3 separate regions of the Homo sapiens genome follow, and regions 1 and 3 are each linked to region 2. The links are contacts of gene promoters, found by promoter capture Hi-C in blood cells and fetal thymus (Javierre and others, 2016). All regions are on one chromosome and are shown on one strand. The core of a region is centred on a gene start or on the middle of the fragment in contact, and the rest is flanking DNA. Distances in the headings are between cores, read along the strand shown.

What was found. Contacts are between HindIII fragments. The CHiCAGO score rates a contact against its expected background, and 5 or more counts as called.
Region 1: a fragment that was not itself captured here is called in contact with the fragment with the promoter of RUNX1T1 in region 2 in 1 of 17 cell types (erythroblasts); the score reaches 6.4 in erythroblasts.
Region 3: a contact is called between a fragment that was not itself captured here and the fragment with the promoter of RUNX1T1 in region 2, in 1 of 17 cell types (erythroblasts). The highest score is 6.2, in erythroblasts.

What each region holds. Positions count from the first base shown.
Region 1 is chr8:92,955,002-92,958,501 of GRCh38, reverse strand. The region is part of intron 1 of TRIQK (triple QxxK/R motif containing); the gene reads left to right. Among named protein-coding and RNA genes, the nearest start is that of TRIQK, 9.4 kb to the left of the region's middle. The HindIII fragment of the contact is 2,744 bases long and covers 509-3,252 here.
Region 2 is chr8:92,101,538-92,105,154 of GRCh38, reverse strand. RUNX1T1 (RUNX1 partner transcriptional co-repressor 1) reads left to right here and starts at 1,770. Exons shown (of 12, transcript NM_175634.3): 1 at 1,770-2,298. The HindIII fragment of the contact is 6,982 bases long and covers 298-3,617 here.
Region 3 is chr8:92,933,843-92,937,789 of GRCh38, reverse strand. The region is part of intron 2 of TRIQK (triple QxxK/R motif containing); the gene reads left to right. Among named protein-coding and RNA genes, the nearest start is that of TRIQK, 30 kb to the left of the region's middle. The HindIII fragment of the contact is 1,589 bases long and covers 1,743-3,331 here.

The DNA of each region.
Region 1 (3,500 bases), core at 631-3,130, 850 kb before region 2:
TAATATCTCAATATTATAATAAGAAATAATGGATACTATTATATGCCAAAAATCTAGATGTTTATAGAGATAAGTATGTACAATATTTAATAAGTGAGTTATGAGTTACATATCAATCAGATAACCAAAGATTTGTCCAGCAGGTATAGGTGACTTGTACAGAGAAAGTACGTAATTGATTGAAATGGGGTCTTGAAGGGTGCCTATGAATTCAAGTTAGACAAGGCTAGGGCTGAGCAACATTGAAATAAGTATAATAAGATTTGTAAAGCTATTAAGCTGTCAATGGGTTCTTGTGATTGGAAAATCAAAAGAAGTTTAGTGATTGGGGCCTAATCTAGAGAAAAGTGGCTAGAGTTGAGGCAGTATGAACCTGCTGGCAAAGGCTGAGGAGGCTCTTATATGACATGCAAAACTATTTGCATCTTGGAGGCAATGAGGATCCATTTCAGGTTTTCAAATGGAGAGCAACATGATCAAATTGGTATTTTGAAATGGTTCTGAAGCTTTTTCAAATACTGTACCACACTTTCTAAAGTTCTTTAATTCTATGATTATACTTTCATGGAATAAAAGTTGTACTGAGGTATACACAGGTTTTCCTTTAAGGGGGAATATATAAACAATCCCCTAGTTACCCTAGGAACTTACGTGGTAGGTAAACTTATGTGAGCAGGCTGTTAAATAAACGTAAATCATTAAACTTTTTTAGAATATTAAGAAGTTACTTATAAAGTAAAAACGTAATCTGTTCTGGCTTCTCCTGAGTAGATAGAACTAACTGCTTTAAGACAAAACATAATGTATATGCTTGCATACTGCACCCCAAAAACTTTATGAAAGTTTGAGATGATAGAAGTTTAGTTATAGACCACTTGAATATATTTAGATTTTCTTTGCTTAGATATTTAAAACCAATGTTTAAATTAACACTTTGCATTTCTTCTACTAAAATTAATACGTTTGTTTGGAATGCCTTTGTAAAATTTAACTGAAAACATATCCCCTTTGAACCTTGATTTAGATATATAATGAAAATAGTTACTCAGATGATATTGTCTTATATTTATGTAGATCTTTATATTTGACACATTTTCATAAAAATACTTCATTTCATTCTTACTTCACATATATATGTGTATATATGTGTATCTGTATGTGTATGTATACGTAAATATACATATATTTTATGTACATACATTAATTTTATGTATACATACATGCATATGTATATTTATATACATACTTACATATATGTATATATGGTTATGTACACATGTATGTATATGTAAAAAGGCTCTTACTCCATTTTACAGAGGTAGAGTCTGTAGTTCTGGTGAGTGGTCTGAACATACTCTAATACATAGAGGAAAGAGAGTAAGCTCTATAATCAGATAGATTTGAGTTCTAATCTCTGCTACTTTCCCTGTCAACTTTGCATGCTTGGGCAAGTCAGTTAATCATTAGGAAACTCAATTTCCTCAGTTGGGAAATTGTACCTGTCATGCAGAAATGTTATGAAAATTTGTGGTATGTGATGTGCTTACCACAGTGTTTGCCACAGTAGTTGCTAGTCAACAAATGCGTAGCTGCTATTATTACTAATATTAACAATCATCATTAATAAGGCTCCCAACAACCATCACTTGCATTTTCAAAATCCAAAAGTTCTTCAAAATTAAACTTTGTCAAGTTTTTTACAAACTTAATTGAGACAAAAAACAGACTTGAAATGACATGGGACTATTTATGTAATTAAATGGCATAAGATTTTTCTATGAAGTATTAATATGCTTCCCCCACATCCTTTCAGGAGTGTTATGTAATTATGGTAGATGAGGTTTATTACATTTTTATAATCTAAAATCATTCAAGACATATCTGGCCCAAACATTTTAGATAAGGACTGTAGAGTTGTATTTTTATGACACTTGTATTTTAATAACAGCTTTATTGAGCTATATTTCACAATCATAAAGTTTATCATTTTAAAGTGTATAATTCAGGAATTTTTACAATATTCCCAATATTGTGCAACTATCTAATTTCAGAATATTTTCATTATCTCAGATAGAAATTCTGTACCCATTATGTCAGTTCCCATTCCTTCTGCCTCTGCACCCTTAAGCAACCACTAATCTATTTTCTTTCTCTATTGACCTTCCCATTCTGGACATTTCATATAAAGGGAACAATAAAAGTTATGTATTAAGTGGACTTTTGTGACTGACTTCTTTCACTTAGATACATGTTTACAAGTTCATCCATGTTGCAGCATTATCAATATTTCATTCTTTTTAATATTCCACCATATAGATATATACCACATTTATATACCTGTTCATCATGAGTTATTTCTACTTTTTGGCTATTAGAATAATGCTGCTATGAACATTCGTATATAAGTTTTTGTGTGGAGATGTTTTCATTTTTCTTGGATATATACCTAAGACTAAAATTGCTGGTCACGTGGTAACTCCGTGCATTTTTGAGGAGCTGCCAAACTTTTCAAAGTGTGGCTGTAACATTTTACATTTCTACCAGCAATGTATGAAGATTCCAATTTCTCCACATTCCTTATCTCCACTTGCATTTTTTTAAAATAGCCATCCTACTAGGAGTAAAGTGGTATCTCATTGTGGTTTTTATTTGGATTTTCCTAATGACTAATGATGTTGAGCATCTTTTCATGTGCTTTTTGGCAATTTGTATGTCTTCTCTGGAAAATTGTTCAAATACTTTGCCCATTTAAAAATTGTATTATTTGATCTTTTATGTTGAGTTGTGAGAGTTCTTTATATATTCTGGATATAAGACTTTTATTATATATATGGTGTGCAAGTATTTTCTTCTATTCTGCAGACTGTCTTTGCACTTTTTTGGTCATGTTCTTTAAAGCATAAAATTTTTATTTTAATGGAGTTCAATTTGTCTGTTTTTTATTTTGTTGCTTGTGCTATTGGTGTTGTATCTAAGAGACTATTTTCAAACTCAAAGTAATAAAGTTTTATTCCTACGATTTCCTTTAAATGTTTTATAGTTTTAGTCTTTGCATTTAGTTCTGTGATTCATCTTGAATTAAATTTCGTGTTTGGTGTGAGGAAGGGTCCAACTGTATTATTTTGTAGCACCTTTGTTAAAAAGGATTATTCTTTCATATTATTACTCTTGACTTGTATTGTTAACACTATTTAAAAGTAACCCCAAAATTGCTATTTTTAATTATCTCATTAGAATTAGTAAAGTAAAGCTTGTGTTCCCAAATAGTTGGGGTTAAATTTTAAGTTGGTATTATTATTAGATCCCAGTTTGGAAATACTTAAATTTTATACTCTTATCCATATGAGAGCAATTGCAGTGTAAAACTTGACATAAGTTCATTGCCTGACATTTAATATGTATTTGGTAAATATTCACTGAACAAAAATGAATAAATCATGCATTACCTGCTTATTATTCCATGTTGCTTTTAAAATGTGCATTTAGAAAGTAACATATAC
Region 2 (3,617 bases), core at 521-3,020:
AGACAGAAGAAAAATGCAGCTAACATTTCTATTTTATTTCTGTCCCTGCTTTTTTATATCATAAAACTATTGCTGATTTACTTTTTCTATATTTTAAATTATGATTTTAGAAGTAACACTATTTCACAAGAATCATTCCTGATTCAGGTATCACTTTTTAAATTTTAAATAAAGATGACTATATGCCTCCAGAATCCAAATTATTTGGTTTCAATTTGGGGGACAGAAGAGATAATACAGGTAATAGAATAATAAAATGTCAACATGATTTTATTCTTTTAAGAACAATAGTAAGCTTTGACATAATTTTCTACACAAAGGAGTTATATTAGTATGGTGTACATAAAATTTTATAGTTTAAGATTATTCATGCTATTAAGATTTGCGACTATAGCAAAATATAAAGAACTGTAATACAGAAATTATTATAGAATGTACACCTTGATAAAATGAGATTCAAATTAAGAGCATCATAATATCAAATACCAAGACTTAACATTGCAATTCATTAATCTATTATAATTCATTAGACAAATGTCCCAAGGAGAGGGGAGAATGTACAATGAGTGTTTTCTGGAAATGAATTGCTAAAAATTAGTAGAGTCTGAAAAGACTTCAGAATTGGAAGCTCCAGCTGGGTTTAAAAGGATGGGGGAAGGGATTTTACTCACTATTAAATATTTGAAACACCACTTCAGAAAATAAAACCCACAAATGTCTCATCAGTTCTCAACTGCATCAGACCGACTCAGACTCTATCTGATGCCTTTTTTCCTTTGTAAAAATGAGATTTTAAAACACGTATTCAGGACATCTTACATTGATTTAGGCTAGTTGGAGAAAACATGGTTCAGAGTAGGATTTCAAATAGTTCCACTAAATACAATAACATTTGCAGTCAGGGTACCGTTCCATAGTAATTTTAAAAGATTTCATTTTACTTATCATTGCAAGCCATTATCTGATCATATTTGACCTACATATTAATATTTTCATTATTATTCAAGCCCTTTTTGGCTCTGTACAAATTGTCAGTCCTCTTCACCGAGATTATTTATTTACTCTGGAAATATCTGGAATTCTTTCACCCTATCTTTTCCTCCGGGACTACCCCCCACACTGCCCCCAAGTATTGATATTAATGTCTGGGGGAGGGGGACACATCTAACAAAAACCTGAGATAGAAAGCCGTCCCTCTTAATGGTATACTATGGGAGAAGTAGAAAAACAAAGAGAATAAAAGAAAATGATAATTGTTTTCTCTAAGGCTATTATCTAATGCGAAAGCAAATAGTCAGTCTGGAAATCAGCTAACAGAAGGGGATTAGAGAGGAGATCTGAGAGTGGCTTGATTTCTAGCAGAGCTGTCTCTTCAGCCAGTGATGAGACACAGGCAGGGCAGCCGGGAGCGCTCCAGATGGCCGGGGAAAGTGGTCGTCTTGGGTTACTGCAGGGCACTCGGGCCGCCTGAGAGCTGGCGGCCCGGGAAGGCATCATTAGGGAGCCAACCCCACGTCCAGCCTGCATGGGAGAGGGCGAGGCCGGGAGGGAGGCCGCCCGCCAGCCCGCGCGCCCTAGCGTGCCGGGCCTGCCCATTGTTAACATATACTTGACCTCCGTGACCCCCGCACAACACAGATGTCTCCCACCTCCACCTCCCCCACGCCCCGCCGCGGGTCCTCCCCCCTGCACCTGGTAGCGGCCGCGCAGCCGCCTCCCTCCCGACCGGCCGCGGCGCCCCTGGCGCGAGCGTGCGCCGGAGCCGGCCTGATGCGGGCGCTCTCGGCGCACAGCGCGCGGCGCTCCTGCTCCCCGGCGGACGCCCGGCCGCCCTGCAGATAAATGCGTCGCCTTCCTCGAGAGTGAGCGAGGGCGGGCGAGGGAGACGCAGACGCCGCCTGTGACAGTGGCAATTCCCTGCGCCCCACATCACATTTGTCTGCCACAGCAGCAACAACAGAAAAGCGGAGGGAGGGAGGGAGGCGGGAGGAGGGGAGCAGAGCTCCGCAAGTCTTGGGCTCTGCGTGGAGGTTGCGTTTGGCTGGCGTCCCCGACCCCGGGCTTTTTGCACGGCAGCTCTCTCTGCGCAGCGCCGGGCGGCCGTAGTCGCTCCGCGGCGCGACTCCGCGGTCTCGTGGCGAGCGCGCGTGGGCGAGTGGCCGCGGACACTCTGGCCTCGCGAGGGAAGCCGCGCCGCGTCCTCGCCCCGTCGCCCCGCGGGCCGGCCGAGACGACGGGAAGTTTTATTTGCAGCTCGGAGCCTGTGGCGGATGGTGGGACTCTCCGGCCCTGTGCAGTGTAAGTGTCCGCGGTAGGGCTTGGCCGGCGGGCGGGCGGCGGGGTCGGGCCCCTGACTGTTATTAATTACTGTTCCGATGACCGTCATCTTCGTTTGGATTATTCGACCGCGAGGCTCCAGGCTGTACTTGTCGCTCAATTAGGGTAGGACTACGCACCAGGGCAAAGAGGAACATCGCGGGTGACTCCGGTCTGCGATGACACTGAACTTCGCGGGTCAGCCGAGGATGCAGTTTTTACTATTATATTCCCCACAGTGTCTTTTAAAAATAATTTTTCTTCCCTCTCCATAGTCACGGTATGCGAGCAGGAAGATGACGAGTGGGTTTCTCCCCCGACAAAACAACCGATCGAGGTGCCCACAGTGCATTTGGCAGGTGGCCCTATGCCCGCATCGTGGGTTTTTTTCTTTTCCTTTCTTTTTTTTTTTTTTCTTTTCTTTTTCTGTAAACTGGAAGCAAAGACTTGTTTTGATGGTGGAAAACTTAGCCCTAAGGAGTAAAGAGGCGGGATCTTAACTTTGGGACCCGGCTGCAACTAGGGTGGGGGTTTGCTTAGAGGTACCCAGGCGCTCTGCGCCTGCCTGCGAACTTTCCTTGTTACTCCTGGCCGTTTGGGGTGCTGGACTGGGAAGCTCCTGGGTGAGCGGGCGGACGGCGGCTCCCGCCCGAGGCTGGTCCCGGGCTTCGCAGTCAGGGGCCGATGGGGAGAGTCGTCCCCGCCCGACCTCTGCGCGCTCTGGACTCAGCCGCCCCGGCCCTCCTGGGTGTTCCCGTCGCGGCCCCGACTCGGTGCCCGCTTCTTCTGAGTGGGGAGCACAACCTTGTGCCCTGTAGCTCCCGCCCGAAGGGGTCCAGACTTGGAGCCACGTCCGGATAATTCCTTTCGTTTTCCAGAAACCCCTCTGGTGAAGCCCCCGGGCCAGTGGAGACGCGCTCCAGGGCCCGCCGCTCACCGCCCTCTTTGCGAACCTGAAAGGACCGGGTTGGTTGGCGCACCCAGACCTCTTTCCCGGGGGGGACCTGGCGCTGACTGGGGTGCTTTGAGCAAATACGGCTAGGTCAGCACAAGGCGCTCAGATCCATTTTTTGAAACGTGCTATTTTTTATTTTTTGTAAGGGCGGTCAACCCTTGGAAAAGTTTGAGTACTATGATTCCGGGAAGTAGGATGTGAGCCACAACTGTTACTAAAAATAGCCGCCTTCCCTCCCCCTCTCCCCCAAAAGGCCTTTCAGTTTGGAGGATTTGGCTGGGCGGCCGTGCAGCCCATGGTCTCATTCCTTGCAAAGCGTAACGGAGAAACCCTTGAAGACTGGGCA
Region 3 (3,947 bases), core at 1,288-3,787, 830 kb before region 2:
GAAGTTTACTTTTGCAAGATCTTATATAATATGTAGAGTAGTATAATATTATTTGAAGATAGATTATGAAAGGTTACATAATATGTATTATAAATTCTAGTAACTGCTAAAAATGTAAAACAGAGGAATGACTAATAAAAGTGAAGATGGAATAAAATACTAAAAAATGCTCAATTAATCCCAAAGAAGCAAGTAAAAAAAAAAAACAAAGAAGATGAGGTAACAGCAGATGGGACAAATAGAAAATAAATTGTAGGATGAGGGATATAAATGCAAACATATTTAATTACATTAAATAAAATGATCTTAATTGTACATTTAAAACACATGTTTTCAACTGGGTAAAACAAGCAAGACCCAGCAATATACTGTCAAGAAATCTGATTAAATAAATAACCCTGTGCAAGCGATCTTAATTGTACTTCCTCATTCCTGCTATATAACCACAGAATTTGGCGTTTATCATTTGGGTGCATGTGTGTGTGTGTGTTGGTATAGGTATATTTTTCCCTAAATAATATTGACTATTGATTTTTCATGTTTTAAGTTGTTTTGTAAGTGTATAAATACATGTGTCTTTGTTCACACATTTTAACTGCTTTATATTTCACTTATGAATAAATTATGTAGACATACAGAGTTTTATTTTCCTTTTTTGCTGTTATTAAAAACATTTTCAGTGAGTGTACTTACTAGTGTTTTTGTGCACATATAGAATTGTTTCCCTAGTTCATATAACTAGCAGTTGATTAATGGTTCTTGTAGGTACATAATCTTTAATTTTACTGGGTATTGCCACATTGCTCCCTCAAATATTTTATTAATTACTCTTCTTAACTTATTGTAATAATCTGAGCTCCTATAACAGTTCAATAAGTAGTCATGCATATACTTTTAGAGGTATTCCATAGTATTTATAGCTGCTTTATAGATTTTGTTGCTATACTAAATTAGAATTTTATATATAAACTTTATATATCATAACCTGGCTGAGCTCTTACAAATAATTTCATACAGATTCAAATATTTGTCTGTAGTTTCTCTCCACTTTGCCACCTGGGAGTCATATTATTTGTGAATCATAATGTTTTCTTTTTCCTTTCCAATCCCCTATGCTCTTTCCCCTTTTGTCTTACTGTGCTATCTGGATGTCTCACTGCAATGTCTTTGTCTTGCTTATGATTTTTAAAAGAGAACTTTTAATTTTTCTCTATTTAGGATAATCTTTGCTTTGTTTGTTTGCCTATGTATCAACAGGGTAAAAAGTTCTTTTCTATTTCTATATACTAAATTCCTTGCTTTCTCCTTCCTGCCTCCCTCTGTTCATCCTCTATCTTTCTTCCTTCTCTCTCCCCCTGTAATAATGAATGGGTATTGAATGTAACTTTTATTTTTCTGTATTGATTGAGGTCTGTCAGTATTTTCCTCCTTTAATCAGTTAACAAGAATACTACTAAGATAATATCTAATGTTAAATTGCCCTTTCATTTTTGTGATTAGCCCAGCTTCATCATGGAATATTTTATCATTATGATTATACATACTGGATTTGGTTGTCTAATATTATGTTTAGGATTTTTGTATCTTTGTTCATAAATAAGATTGGCTTGTAATTTTTCATTCTCATAATGATCTTGCCTTGTTCTCATTTCAAGATTCTATTAGCCTTATGAAATGAGTTGAGAAGTGTGCCAATTTTTAGGCTTCAAAATAGTTTAATATTTTATATACCTGATAAAGCTTGTTGTAGGGATTATGTGTTCCTTGAATGGTTAATAAAACTTCCTTGTTGACCATTTAATCTTACCTGTTTTGTGTGTGTATGTCTTATTTTTTAAGGGTAGATTTTTAAACATTGATTGACTTAAAAAATTATAGTTCCACTGAATTTTATTCTATTTGATCTCTACCTTCTTCAGCTGCTATTGGTAAGTCTGTTTTTTAAGAAATGTGTTTTAATTTTTAAATTTATTGATATGGCATTTTTAATAGAATCTTCTTGTTATATAATGTTAATCTCTGCTGAATATTGAGTCTTTTTTTAAATATCTAATACTGTTTGTGTATTTTTTTCTTATTCCGTCAGGACAAGAGTTTGTTCCATGTTATTATTTTTCAAAGGCTCAGTTTTTGTCTATGTTGATCATCCCTTTTGACTCTGTTTTTTAAATTTAATTATTTATTGCTTTTAGTTTATGACTTTTTGTAATTTGAAGGGCTTTATTCTTTTTCTATTATTTCCTTTTTGGTTCATTATTTTTCAATCTTTTGTCTTTTCTAATTTGTGCTTACTTATCACTTTAGCTACATTACTAATTTTTCAAAACTTTCTGTTGATGCATAATACTGTACATAAAGGAACGTGCACAAAACAGAATATGTAGACGGTGAATTTTCACAGAATGAACACGCTTTTAACCAAAACCCTGATTATTTTATTTTAGCAATAATTTCTAAACATTTGCTGTTGAAGTGTTTTAATATTTGTAGTTCACAACATTGATCAAGTTGGAATCTTTTATTATCTTGAACAGTTTATTCAAAAGTATATTTTTCGTATTTTCATTTGCTAGCTTTTCTTTGTTATTTTTTGTGAGACTGAATACTCTTAAAAAGGCCGACAATTAACTATCAAGCAGAACTTTGACATCTTTTTAAATGAAATACCTTATGAAAGGCATTACAGATTTGATAGAGTGGGAATTAGGGAATAGGAGATGGAAGATAAAAAGCTGGCACAAAGTAGAACTTCTGGTTTTTTGTTTGTATTACAGTTTAACTTGGGAAATTCTTTTCTCCATCAATCCATTGTAACAGGAAATCTACTTATGCTTTTTCGTATTGTACTATTCCATCTATTTTTACTTATTTATTTGTTTCTACATAGTAGAGTTATATTAGCTAATAGCCTAGTGCTTATTTCCATTAACCTTTTTCCATGTTGTTTTCTCAATTTTTTAAGCTCAAAAATCTTTATTGTATTTCTCTAGTGGAAAAATTCGGTGGTATTTTAAAAGCATAATTTGCATCATAGCTGATAAATACATGTTATAATACCACAATCTGTTTGAAAACTAGCAGTCTGCAAATACTAACAAAGTGCTAATGCTATAATCACCTGGGACTTCGATATAATGAATGCGTTTAGTACAACTTCTATGAAATTGGATATAGACCAGTTGTTTTTATACTTTTGACATTTAATTACTAATAAAGCTCTTTTAAATAAGTCATACAGCATTTTGAAGCTATTACATTGGAAGCAAAATTTCCATAAAGGGCCTTGTTATTGTTGTCTTGAGCTCTTTGTTTCCTCTTATATACTTAAGCTTATTTCAGTACACATAATTTCCATTAGTTTTAAGATATATATGCTTAAAAGTTATGTACTTATTGTTAGTTCTGTCTTAATATTTAAGGATGTGTTTCTCGGCATGAAAATAATTACCCTTAGCCTGATACATATGCTTATGTATTCTATGTTTTTTAAACTGGAAGAGAGTTTAGCAATTGTGTAAGAAGGGAAACTGATTGACTTTGTCAATGTCATCTAGTCTTTCATTGAAAAGATGTGGCTAAGGTTTTATGCCTTCTTGTCTGGTACATTTCCCTACTATTCTTTATTTAGTCAAGGGATAATCATTGAACGTCTTTTGGAAACTATCCATGTACCAAACTAGAACTTGCTTTTTCAGTTCACCATTGAAATAGCCACCATTACAAAAATAATAGAGGTTTTTATTTCTTTCACACTTTCTCTCCTGCTCTCTCTGTGTGGAACTGAGTGACTTTCCCTAGTCACTTAAGGATTTTTTTGTTGAATTTGGAAACCTAATTACTTGAAATTGATAATACACATAGAAATGACTAAAAATTAGCATAAGTGATGCTTGCCGCTAAAATAGATCAAGGAGATTCAGTGAGTGATATGTTATCTGTGTACTTTA